Regions from separate parts of the Homo sapiens genome. Here regions 2 and 3 are each linked to region 1. The links are contacts of gene promoters, found by promoter capture Hi-C in blood cells and fetal thymus (Javierre and others, 2016). All regions are on one chromosome and are shown on one strand. The core of a region is centred on a gene start or on the middle of the fragment in contact, and the rest is flanking DNA. Distances in the headings are between cores, read along the strand shown. Region 1 holds the start of B3GNT7 (UDP-GlcNAc:betaGal beta-1,3-N-acetylglucosaminyltransferase 7). Region 2 holds the start of SPATA3-AS1 (SPATA3 antisense RNA 1). Region 3 holds the start of C2orf72 (chromosome 2 open reading frame 72).

What was found. Contacts are between HindIII fragments. The CHiCAGO score rates a contact against its expected background, and 5 or more counts as called.
Region 2: a contact is called between the fragment with the promoter of SPATA3-AS1 here and the fragment with the promoter of B3GNT7 in region 1, in 3 of 17 cell types (fetal thymus, naive B cells and neutrophils). The highest score is 6.7, in fetal thymus.
Region 3: a contact is called between the fragment with the promoter of C2orf72 here and the fragment with the promoter of B3GNT7 in region 1, in 7 of 17 cell types (erythroblasts, M0 macrophages, neutrophils and 4 more). The highest score is 9.2, in erythroblasts.

The regions. Positions count from the first base shown.
Region 1 is chr2:231,393,782-231,397,689 of GRCh38, forward strand. B3GNT7 (UDP-GlcNAc:betaGal beta-1,3-N-acetylglucosaminyltransferase 7) reads left to right here and starts at 1,929. Exons shown (of 2, transcript NM_145236.3): 1 at 1,929-2,033. The coding sequence starts at 2,023. RefSeq lists enhancers at 1-133, 134-715, 1,011-1,060, 3,329-3,908, 3,471-3,540 and a silencer at 1,611-2,080. The HindIII fragment of the contact is 8,411 bases long and covers 1,344-3,908 here.
Region 2 is chr2:230,993,793-230,997,700 of GRCh38, forward strand. SPATA3-AS1 (SPATA3 antisense RNA 1) reads right to left here and starts at 2,240. Exons shown (of 6, transcript NR_033879.1): 1 at 2,056-2,240; 2 at 1,485-1,593. SPATA3 (spermatogenesis associated 3) reads left to right here and starts at 2,329. Exons shown (of 5, transcript NM_139073.5): 1 at 2,329-2,742. The coding sequence starts at 2,442. RefSeq lists an enhancer at 1,840-2,373. The HindIII fragment of the contact is 18,304 bases long and covers 1-3,908 here.
Region 3 is chr2:231,035,348-231,039,255 of GRCh38, forward strand. C2orf72 (chromosome 2 open reading frame 72) reads left to right here and starts at 2,176. Exons shown (of 3, transcript NM_001144994.2): 1 at 2,176-2,852. The coding sequence starts at 2,219. The HindIII fragment of the contact is 4,632 bases long and covers 71-3,908 here.

The DNA.
Region 1 (3,908 bases), core at 679-3,178:
AGGAAGTGCAAGACTCTGACCCAACGCCCATGCCTGCCATCCCCAAACATGGGCTCAAAACCCCCTTCCCAGGGACGGCTGTGTCCACCCCTCAGCAGGAGGAGGAGACCCCACAGCACCGGGTGAGAGGTCAGTGCTGAAGCCAGGGAGGCAGCTCTCAGCAGGGCACCTGTGTGGAGCCAGGGAAGCCAGGGCCACACTTGCAGGGTGAAGTGGGGAACTCGGAAGGCTGGGCAGTGGAGCAAAATGCTTGGTGCCCTGCGGGAACCGGTGGCCAAGGCTACACTGGGATGAAGGGAGCCGTGGAGCTGCAGAATCTGCGGGTGGCCCTCAGTGGCAGGCAGCCAGGCCAACAGGGGCTTTGGGCTGCAGGTCAGCCCCTCCCCTGCTCTGGAACTTTTGGAGGGCCATTACAAAGGACATCAGCCCCAAGATACTCCTCTGAAATTCTGCCTGAAAGGCCCTTCACATTCCCTAATTGGCACTTACAACATTCCAGAACATTCTATGGTACCTTAAGTTTCTCCTCCCCCTCCAAAGGGCCCTTGAACCTTAAGGATAGGGCAGAAGGGGCTCCTCACCCTGGCCTCGAGGGCTTAAGATCCAGCTGAGGACTCCTAGCCTCCCTGTGTGCTGGGCAGGAAAGTAGCTCCATGTCACTGCTGTCCCTGGGAAAGGAAAAAAGGTTGAGGAAGGGCTCAGAGCCAGCCTTCAGACCAGGCAGGAAGGGTTCAGAGCCAGCCTTCAGGCCATGCAGGCCTCCTGGATGTGCTTACTAACTCTGGGCTCGCTGTTCTCTGAGCTGGCTGGGAGTTCCCCTCTGCACCCCCGTTTCCTCCCCTGTAAGGTGGGAATAATAGCGTATGTCTCTAGGATTAAGTGAGCCAGTCATGCATGGGCCGAGAACCAGGTTTGGCATATTGTAGCTGCTCAGTGGACGTTAGCTGTTATGATTGGACCACAACGTGCTTCCGTTTCAATTCTGTGGGCCTTTTGGAGGTCCTGCTGGATGCTAAGCACCGAAACCTCAACCCGGAACAAGACCAGAACAACCTGAGCAACAACAGGACCAGCGATGGCTCTCCCTGCTGGAGGATTCTGGAAGTCACCTGGCTGGACCAAGCCCTCTCCGTGTTCTCTGTCAGCCCACTCCCCAGAGCCGCTAGGCCTGATGTGCACAAGCAGACTAATAAAGGCTTGAGGACAAAAAGGGTTTTGAGTGATAAGTGAAAAAAGAAAGGAGATAGGGCTGGGCCAACAGGCCTTCCCTTGGTGGTGGGGAGCCCTCAGAGGTGGGAGGAACCCCAGAGGTGAAGAGAGGGACATGGTGGGGGCACAAAAAAAGCTTCCAGAGCCACAGGCCTGGGCGAGTCCTGACATGGAGCCCAGTCTCATACGGCCTCTTTCCCTAGTGGCTGGCTTTGCTCCTGGCCCTAGGTAGCCCAACAGCTGGGCAAGGGGTCCGTCTGGTCAGGGGAAAGGTGCAGGGGCAGAAGGTAGCAGAGGGAGAAAAGGACACCCTGTCTGCCTCTGGCCCCAAAGACAAGTCCGAATGGGGCCAGAGGGAAATGGCTGGGCCTTGGGGTGCCCCAGGGTCTTGGAGGGGACCGGGTGTTCAGGTTTCGCACAAGTACAGGAGGGACCGGCGACCGCCCTCCCCCCGCCCCGGGAGGCTCCGCCAGGGACAGGCGTCCCCGGGATTGGAGGTGACCCCCGTGGGTTCCGAAGCCCCGCCTCGGCCATGCACTGTCTACTAGGCGCGCTTGGGGAGCCTAGGGGCCGTCTCGGAGAAATGGGGTGGTCCCCGCCAGGCGGCGGCGGGGCGGGCCCTGGGCGCCGAAGGGGTTAAGGCACCTGGGCCACCGCCCCTGCCGGCCCCTCCTCCCGCGGCCGGGAAGAGGAAAGTCGCGGCGGGGGCGCGGCCCGGTCTCCGTCCCCACCCGCCCGCCGTCCCGCCGGCCCGAGCCGTGGCGCCCAGAGCTGCGAGCCGCTCGCCCCTCCGCCGCTCCGGCCCGGGCCGCCATGTCGCTGTGGTGAGTGGGGCTGGGGGCCGTCGGGGGCCTGGGCGGGGGCGTGGGCCCGGGGCTCCCCCTCCTCCGTGGCCACAGACGGGCGCCGGGACTCCCGGGATAGGAGATGCCCCCGCGCGCGCCGCGCCGGCCTCAGTTTCCCGGGGGCGGATGGGCGGGCGGGCGCGGCGGCGGCGGCGGGAGATGTTCGCGGTACGCGGCCCCGGACCCGTGGGGGACGTCGAGGGGTCTCGGGGCGCCGCGCTCAGCTCCCCGGCCCCGCGGCCCTGGACACCGCTCCAGGACCCTGGCGGCTGGGACCCCAGGTCTTGCCGGCAGCTGGGTCCCCTCTCCCTTCCAGACCCCTGAGGGCCCCCTGCGTCCGGGCCACTCTCCTCCTCTCGGGGCTTCCTTCCGCGGGACCTCGGACCGCCGCCCGCCCGGCCCCTCTCCGCCCCTCCCGGGCTTTCCCTACGAATGGAGCGGACCCGGCAGGTGGAGCGCCCGCAGCCCAGGGCCTCGCCGCCTTCCCGGTGCACCCCCCGACCTCCCCCGTCCCGGCCTCGGTGGGCGGCTTCCCTGGAACCCCTAGGGCTGGCAGGGCCGGATCCGGAGCCCTCCGTTTCCTCCCCGGAGAGCTGGACCTTGGGTCACACCCCCCAGCCTGCACCTAAGGTGCCCCTGTCTTCCTCCAACCACATGCCCCAGCAACCTGGGGACCCTATGGGGAAAATGTCGCTCTATGGGGCTCAGCCTGCATTCACCCTGGGGCCTGGACCTGCAACCGGACCAGCCCTCAGGGCAACCCAGGCGTCTCCACGGGCTGCCTGTCTCTCCTGGCACCCTGCTCCTCCCCCTTGGAGGTCAGCGCCATCTCTCTGCTAGGCTGGCCCTGGAAGGCCACTCTGCTGTCCCCAGAGCTCTCAGCCCCCAGGTCTCCACTGGGGAGGGTGGGGCAGGTGTCCTGGCAGCCCCCGGAGGGTGAGATGAAGAGAGGAGGTCCTTCAGGACAGGGGCTCAGGCCCCAGGGCTTGGGACGACCAGCACTCCTGGCAGAGAGCTCTAATTTCTGCTTCCGAAATGGGTGTGGACCGGGGTTGGGGTGGGGGGGTCTCTGGGCAAGAAGGGTCCCTCAAGGGCTGGAGCTGCAAATGTGCCCCCTCCCAGGGAGTAGAGCTGTAGCCTCATGTCTTCTAATGGGGTGTTATGAGCTGGGGATGTTAAGGTAGGGGTGAGGGGCAGTGCCATGCTAGAGGTGCTCACTGCATCCTTGGGCCTCCATCAACCATGAGGGCTGCTCTTTGTTGGGTGAGACAGACTGGAGAAGGGGGAGGAGGGCCAGTCTTCCTCAGGTCCCAAGCTCGAGCCACTCTCCAATGTGCCCCACATGTGATGGAGCTCCCGGGCGGCACAGAGGATCAGAGGGTGCCCTCTCAATGACTCTGGCTCTGAGTCACCTAATGATACCGATACCTACTGCTGTGGGTAGGTACACCGCAGGGAAATGAAAGGCATTGGGGTTCCAGGCGTGGGGAACAGGGCAGAGGTTTCCACCTGAGGCCCTCCTGTTAAGGTGACAGCATTCCCCTAACTGTGCACCCGCTGCCTGGTACTTTATATAGCACTCCAATCCTGTGTTTTAGCCCCATTTGGGGGAAGAAGAAATCGTGGCTCAGAGTGGTTGTAAACCACTCATTCAGCTTGTAAGCGTCAGGGCCTGATTCCACAGTGCTCCTTGAGGAGAGGGCAGGGTGGGAGAAAGAAAGGGCAGGGTGGGAGAGGAAGCGGGACCCTACCCTGACAGCTTAGGGACTCCGGGACTGAGCCTGTGCCCAGGTCCACTTGCCCGTCTGGGACCACCCAGCCTCCCAAGGGGGGCGCCAGGAGAGCCCTGGGCTC
Region 2 (3,908 bases), core at 990-3,489, 400 kb before region 1:
GGCACAATCAGGGGCAATGTGGACACACACACTCCTACCCCATCTCTAGGGGACATTTAGCAATATCTGGAGACATTTTGGGTTGTCCTGGGGTAGGGGGGAGTAAAGACTGGGTAAAGACCAGGGATCTGGTAAACTTCCTACAATACACAGGATGACCCGCCACAACAAAGAATTACTCAGCCCAAAAATGTCAACAGGGCTGAGGTTGAAAAACACTGATTTAAACCAGGTTGAGGCCCTCGGCCGAAGCCCATTGGTACCTGAAAATCCAACTTTGCAGAGATTAATGCCTTAGGAGTTCCTGAGCTGTCTGCTAGATCTCAACAGGGTTCCCGGCCTCGGTTTCCAGTCTCTCTGATTCTAAATGGAGTCCCCTCAAGGGTTCCATTGCTCTTGGCTTCAGGAAATTACCAGCTTCATACAGATTCACTTGCTCCCAGAGCCTCCTTAGGCCAAGGTCAACCAAACACAACCCAATACTCTTGAGCTGAGCTTGCCTTCACTTCTGATCCTTCCTGCCTTTGTTTTCTTCAATCTTCTCGCTCAGGGACCTTTTTTTTTTTTTTGAGACGAGTCTCACTCTGTCGTCAGGCTGGAGTGCAGTGGCACAATCTCGGCTCACCACAACCTCCGCCTCACAGGTTCAAGTGATTCTCCTGCCTCAGCCTCCTGAGTACCTGGGACTACAGGCGTGCACCACCATGCCCAGCTAATTTTTGTATTTTTAGTAGAGACAGGTTTTCACCATGTTGGTTGGCCAGGATGGTCTCAATCTCTTGACCTCATGATCTGCCCGCCTCAGCCTCCCAAAGTGCTGGGATTATAGGCGTGAGCCACCGCACCAGGCCACTGGGGGACTTTTTAATTCATTATTTCAAAGCCTGTATAATTATCTGACTCCCTATTGTTTTCTGGGATCATGAAAATAATGAGCCCCAAACTGGAATTTAGTCCTTCCGATGCCCCCAGCCAGCTGTGTGACCCTGGGAAAGTAACTTAATTTCGCTAAACCTCAGTGTTCTGAGGAAAGGTCATCATTAAGGTATTTTTAGGCTCTAGAAGCCCTAAACTATGTCCTGTCATTTCAGAGTTCATGTTGGGTCTGGCTTTGTGTGGCCCAAAGCCCCCCATTTTTTTTTAAGACAGAGTCTCGCTCTGTCGCCCAGGCTGGAGTGCAGTGGCACGATCTCGGCTCACTGAAAGCTCCACCTCCAAGGTTCACGCCATTCTCCTGCCGAGTAGCTGGGACTACAGGCACCCACCACCACGCCCGGCTAATTTTTTGTATTTTTAGTAGAGACGGGGTTTCACCATGTCAGCCAGGATGGTCTCAATCTCCTGACCTCGTGATCTGCCCGCCTCAGCCTCCCAAAGTGCTGGGATTACAGGCGTGACCGAAGCCCTTTTTATCTGCATAGGTCTGCTCTAAACCTTCCGCTGGGGCAGGAGCTCCTGCGCTTGCCAGTCCCACACTCACCCACCTGTGACACACTGGCGATGAAAGCAGTCTCCTCAGGTGAACACATTTTATGTTGCAGTCACAGTATGAGCTTCAGATTGTCTTTTAAAAATACTTTTCCTTCTTCCATCCTAAAACAAAAATCACATTTAATGAGCACATTAAATTAATTAATCTAGAGAAAGATTCAGTCACCTGTTTAACCCAACCAATTGGGGTTTGGGAGATAGTCTGTGGTTGCCATTGCCATGAGTTTGAGACAAATGTTAGTTTTCTGAACAGCTGTTATGTTCTCAGGGAAAATTATCTGCCAAATGCAAAGGTTCTTATAAAAGTCAAGTCAACCCCCAAACTCCCCTCCCACAGTGCGGGAGGGCAGGCTTTGGGGGAAGGGGTAAGCTACTCTGAGATGGTAGCAGGCTCTGGGCCATGGTAAAGCCTTCGAAGAAGCTCCAAATCTTCAGGAAGCTGACCTGAAGATGAATGCGTGGGGAACATGGATTTTTGAGGTGTAGGAGTAGGGGGTATGTGGAAGCCAGTGACAGAGCTGAGCGTCACATCCAGGGTATCTTAGAGCAAAACAGGTAGCTCACATGGACCCAGGAACACGCCAGCAGAGAGGTGTCTGAAGGCAGCGCTCAGGTCGCAGAAGCATGAGGATCTGGCTGTCACCAGCCCCGTAGCCAGGGCTGTGAGGACCAGGGCAGCCGCTGTCCCCTGCCTAGCCTGGCAGCCTGGGATGAAGGAGGACACCAGGCTGGTGTCTGCAGAGAAGACTGTCCCTTGAAGCCCTGCCATAGGAGCCACCCTGGCTTTTATGACCTCACAGGAGGTGTGGGTCACTGTTCTCTGTGGGGCCTGGGTCCAGCTGGAGGCCCAAGCCAGGCTCCTAGGGCAGAGGGCAAACGGCCCCTCCAGGAGGGAGCCGGGAGATTACGCAGCTCCATGTAGGTCCACGTTTAGGTTGGGAGGATCTACCATGAAGAAGGTCAAGAAGAAAAGGTCAGAGGCCAGACGCCACCGAGACTCCACCTCCCAGCATGCTAGCTCCAATTCCACCTCTCAGCAGCCTAGCCCTGAATCCACACCACAGCAGCCTAGTCCTGAATCCACACCACAGCAGCCTAGCCCTGAATCCACACCACAGCATTCCAGCCTTGAAACCACCTCCCGGCAGCCAGCATTCCAAGCCCTTCCAGCACCCGAAATCCGCCGCTCCTCTTGCTGCCTTTTATCTCCAGATGCTAACGTGAAGGCAGCCCCTCAATCCAGGAAAGCAGGTGGGCTGTCTTCTAGCTTCAGCAGTTCCAGCCTTCCTGCTGATGGAGTTCTGGGTCATCCCAAAGGCTGGTTCTTGTAGGATAGTGATGCATGGTTAACGTGTATCCTGGAGCTGTGCTGTAGAGTGGGAAGGTTTTTGTTTTTGTTTCTACCCAAGAGACCAGGATTCCTGGGTTTTGTCATTTCTCATCATCCTGAGTCTCACTGAAGACAGCCACACATACATATAAACATTTAACTTGGTTCCATAGTAATACTTGCTCACTAGGAATCAGCAGTGCCATGCAACTGCTAAAAAATAAAAACCAAGGATGCATTTATAGAAGTATATGGTTTAGAATAAGGGAGGTGATGATACTGCTTTATTCTGTCCTCATCAAGCTATCCTTTTGGGCTGTAAAAGATGCCTGACAAACTAGTCCAAGGAAGATAGTCTGGGTTGATGGAGGATGAGAAGGATCAGGGAGACCATTTAGTGTATGACAGTCAATTGAAGGAATTGGAGGATGTCTGTCTGTCAAGTGGAAGATGTGAATAGACTTGTTCCTTATTGTCCTCAGAGATCTAAGGGTCTGATGTGGTTTGGCTGTGTCCCCACCCAAATCTCTTCTTGAATTCCCAGGTGTTGTAGGAAGGACCCAGTGGGAAGTGATTGAATCACGGGGGAGGGTCTTTTCCGTGGTGTTCTCGTGATAGTGAATAAGTTTCATGAGATCTAATGGTTTTAAAAAAGGGAGTTTCCCTGCACAAACTCTCTTCTCTTGTCTGCCGCCATGTGAGATGTGCCTTTCACCTTCCACCATGATTGTGAGGCCTCCCCAGCCACGTGGAACTGTAAGTTCCACAAACCTCTTTCTTTTGTAAATTGCCTAGTCTCAGATATGTCTTTATCAGCAGTGTGAAAACAGACAAATACAGGCCCATGGATAGGATAGCCAGACAAAATACAAGACTCTCAGTTAAATTTTAATTTTAGTAAACAACAAATAATATTTTTAGTATGTGTGTCCCCAGTATTGCATGGGCATCCTATATTTTTATTTGCTAAATTAGCAATCTTACCCATGGAAGACATTAGTGACAGAAAGCCTTCGGCTCAACATAAAAAACTTCCCAACAATTAGCTCTGTCTGAAAATGGAATGGCTGTCAGGAAAAGTGGTTCC
Region 3 (3,908 bases), core at 926-3,425, 360 kb before region 1:
CAACCAGATTTTTGTTCCTTCCTCAGTCCTTCTACTACCCAGCTTCTGGGAATACAGGTGTGATGGCCCAAGCTTTAGCAGCCAATTTGGATTATGAAGATGTCAGAGGGCAATAGTGACTTGGTATGAAATCTGAGTCTTCAAACACCTAGTAAAGCAGAACTATTATACTATTTCAGCCATAAACTGTCCATCCCCAAACGTCTACAAAAGAGAAAAAGAAATTTTCATTGTTATTAGTGTTGTCTGTGTTATTAAGAAATGAATCTTAATTCATATATCCATTAAACCTGCTTTGTTTTATACTTTCCAGAAGCCTAACTGTTTTTTATTTTTTATTTTATTTTATTCATTTATTTATTTTTTGAGACAGAGTTTCGCTCTTGATGCCCAGGCTGGAGTGCAATGGCACGATCTCAGCTCACCAAAACCTCCACCTCCTGGGTTCAAGCCATTCTCCTGCCTTAGCCTCCCAAGTAGCTGGGACTACAGGCATGCACCACCATGCCTGGCTAATTTTGTATTTTTAGTAGAGACTGGGTTTCTCCATGTTGGTCAGGCTGGCCTCCAATCCCCGACCTCAGGTGATCCACCTGCCTTGGCCTCCCAAAGTGCTGGGATTACAGACACAAGCCACAGCGCCCGGCCCCAGAAGTCTAATTATTTTTCCCAGTGAATTCATGTTTCCCTAGATATCAGCTACTTTGGTTGGCGATAGGTACACCTGGAAGAGACTAAAACCTAGGCTCTTCCTATATATCCCACCTGGGAGCTTAAGGAATGGGGGTGTGATGGGACTTGCCTCTGGCATCAAATGTGAATGTAGCCACTCCCCATGTGCCACCCTCACACACACCAGACACCCCACTCAGGGAGCTTCTGGGCACTCTCCCCTGGCCAATCCTCTTTCATGAGGCAGGTCTCGTGGTTGGAATTCCTGACCCATGAAGTGGGAAGAAGAGGCTGCCGGGTCTGGTTTTTCTGTGCTGCTAGCCCCAGCCTGATATGCCATCCCTGGCTAGCACAGCTGTTTTCTGCCTCCCAGCAGTGCTGGGGAGATGGGGTTGAGAAATGGTCTACTCAGGCCAATGCAAGCAAAGAAAAGAGCACAAGTGTATAGCGTTCACTCAGCCTATCCCCCTTCTATGGCACTGAGGGGAGGAGGCGACAGGCCTTCCCTGGTTTTACATTGGTTTCTCAGAGTCCTTACCAACTCCCCTCTTGCTTCTGCGGCGTCTTTAGGGTACTATTCAGAGAAAGGTGCCAGCCCTTTAAGTACATTATCATCTTGTCACTTTCTGCTTTAATTTTACATTTCATTACAAATTACGTGAAATGTAATACTCAGTTCTTCAGTTGCACTCGCCAGATTTCAGGTACTCAATAATAGTCACATATGGTGCAGACAATAAAAAAGTTTTCCATCATCACAGAATGTTCTATTGGACAAGGCTGACCTAGATCCTTAGAAGGAAGGGAAATGCATTCCTGCTTCTGACCTGGCTGGCCCCTTGCTCCCCACGCAGATCAGAGCACCATCCGTGTCCTGCATCTGGCCCCCTAGACTTTCTGCTTTACGGAAACAGTCTGGGTTTCAACCCCAGCGCCTGGGGTGGTACAATAAGTATTTGTGGAAATAATGGACCCTCGGTCAGTTTTTGCTAAATGTTGAAGCCCAAAAGGAAAGCTGGGTGGCAGAAATAACCCCTGCGTGTTCTCTTTTATCTCACCTTCCTACCCACTTCTGCGCCCTCCGCCCCCTACCCCCCTACCTCCCACCCCACCTCGGCAAGACCCCAAACTGTGCAGGACTCTGCTCCAGGTCTCCAAACGATCTTATCTAGTGAGGGGATAATTGTCTGTCTTCCCAACCTCGGCTGCCCAGCGCCTGCACATAGTAGGTGCGCAGTAAGTATGTGTGGGATGGACGAACAAATGAATGAATGAATGACTCTCTGTTTCCCCGCGTCTGCGCAGGGACTTCGGGAGGAGCCACCCTTGGAGGGCTGAGGAGAAAGCCCTCTTCCTCCCACCCGGGCCCGCGATGCGGGCTGCGCCCAGGGGCGCGTGCACACAGAGGCCCCGCCCGGGGGCCCGGGGGTCCGGCTGGGCTCGGCCCTCGGGGGCGTGTCCTCTGTGCCGGGGCGCCACCGCCCCGAGAGGCGGGCAGCGGGTGCGCCCGGGCCGCGGCGGCCGCAGAGGGCGGGCGGCGGCCAGCATGGAGCGCGAGCTGGAGGCGCTGGCGGCCCGGCTTGCGCGCCCTGCCGAGCCGCCCTTCCAGGCGTTGGTGGAAGCGGCGGGGGGCCGCGGGCAGGTGCTGCTGGTGGGCGAGCTGTGGGAGCGCGAACAGAGCCGCGCGCTGCTGCGGGACTTCGCACGGGCGGTGTTCCCGCCGGAGCCAGGCGCGGCCAAGCCGGGCGGCGCGGCGGCAGAGGGCGCGGGGCCCGGGGCGGCGCGCGGGGCGCAGAGGGCGGCGAGGGCGGCTGGGGCGGCGGGGGCGGCGGCGGCGGCGGCGCGCGCCATCCGCTCGCCGCTGGTCTTCGTGCTGTGCCGCGCGTCGTCGCTGGCCGCCCGGGAGCCGCGGCGCCGCCTGCGGGAGATGCTGCGGGACGTGCGCGGCCGGCGGCGGGCCGGGGCGGCGCTGGTCGGGGTGCTGGTGGCCGAGGCCGGGCCAGAGGACGCGGTGGCGCCGGGGCTGCGGCTGCTGGAGGCGCTGTTGCGCGCCGTGTTCGGCCGCCAGGCGGGGGGGCCCGTGCAGGCGGCCGCCTACTGCCCCGGCCTCCCGGCCTCCTGCCTGGCCGTCCAGGCGGCCGCCTGCAGGGCCCTGCAAGCCGCCGGAGCCGGGCAACCAGGTGAGACTGCGCGGGGCCCGGCTGGGCGCGGGCGGGCGGTGGCTCGGGCACGTCCCCCAAGTTGGACCCCTTTGGCCATTCCCTTATTGAGCACCGAGGTAAACTGAGGCTCAGAGCAGGGAGGTGCCTAGAGCCAGGCCTCGCAGCTAGCGGAGAGCGGGCCGTGCGTAGCGGATCGAGTCTGTCCCGGAAGGGTCCGGAGTGCACGGGAGATGCCTAGGGGGCGTGGGAAAGCTGAGGGGCCGAGTAGAAGGCAGAGGGAGTGGGTAGAGAGAAGGGATGAATCGGGCAAGGCCGAGATCTAGGAGTTACGGGGTGGGTGGGGGTGGGGAGAGAAGAGGAGTGGGGAAGGAAATGGGAAAGCCTTGGGATGGGAAAGTTTCAAGGGGGTGGATGGGTGCTAAGGAGATTGGCGGTGCCAGAAGCTAAATTCTAGGGCGCTGCGCAGCCAGAGATGCGTCGGGAGCTCTAGGAGGGGCGGAGGGGCATCTCCAGCGCGGTGGAGGCTCGTCCTGGAAGCCCTGCCTGGTTTTAGGAAGAGGGCAAGGAATGGGTGCTCGGGACTTGACGTGTGGGGAGGTGAGAGGGACTAAGAGTACATTTTCTATTGATTTCTGGCCACCCACCAAGGCTGTGCACCCAACTGCTGTGTCCCTCAGCCTCCCCCAGGTCTGCTGAGGCCACCTTTTCCCTCCACATTCTCCTGAAAGGTGGAAGGGATTTAAGGGTCTTTTCCCAGCCCCCGTGACTGCTGCCATCAGCAGAAGGGTCAGGATCTCCTTCCTCCTGGAACACAAGGCTTTACAGGAACTCTCCAATGTTCTAGGATGAAAATATGCACATTAAGAGTAGCTGCATCTGGCTATCGCAAGGACAAAAAACCAAACACAGCATGTTCTCACTCGTAGGTGGGAATTGAATAATGAGAACACATGGACACAGGAAGGGGAACATCACACACCAGGGACTGTTGTGGCGTAGGGGGAGGGAGGAGGGATAGCATTAGGAGATATACCTAATGCTAAATGACGAGTTAATGGGTGCAGCACACTAACA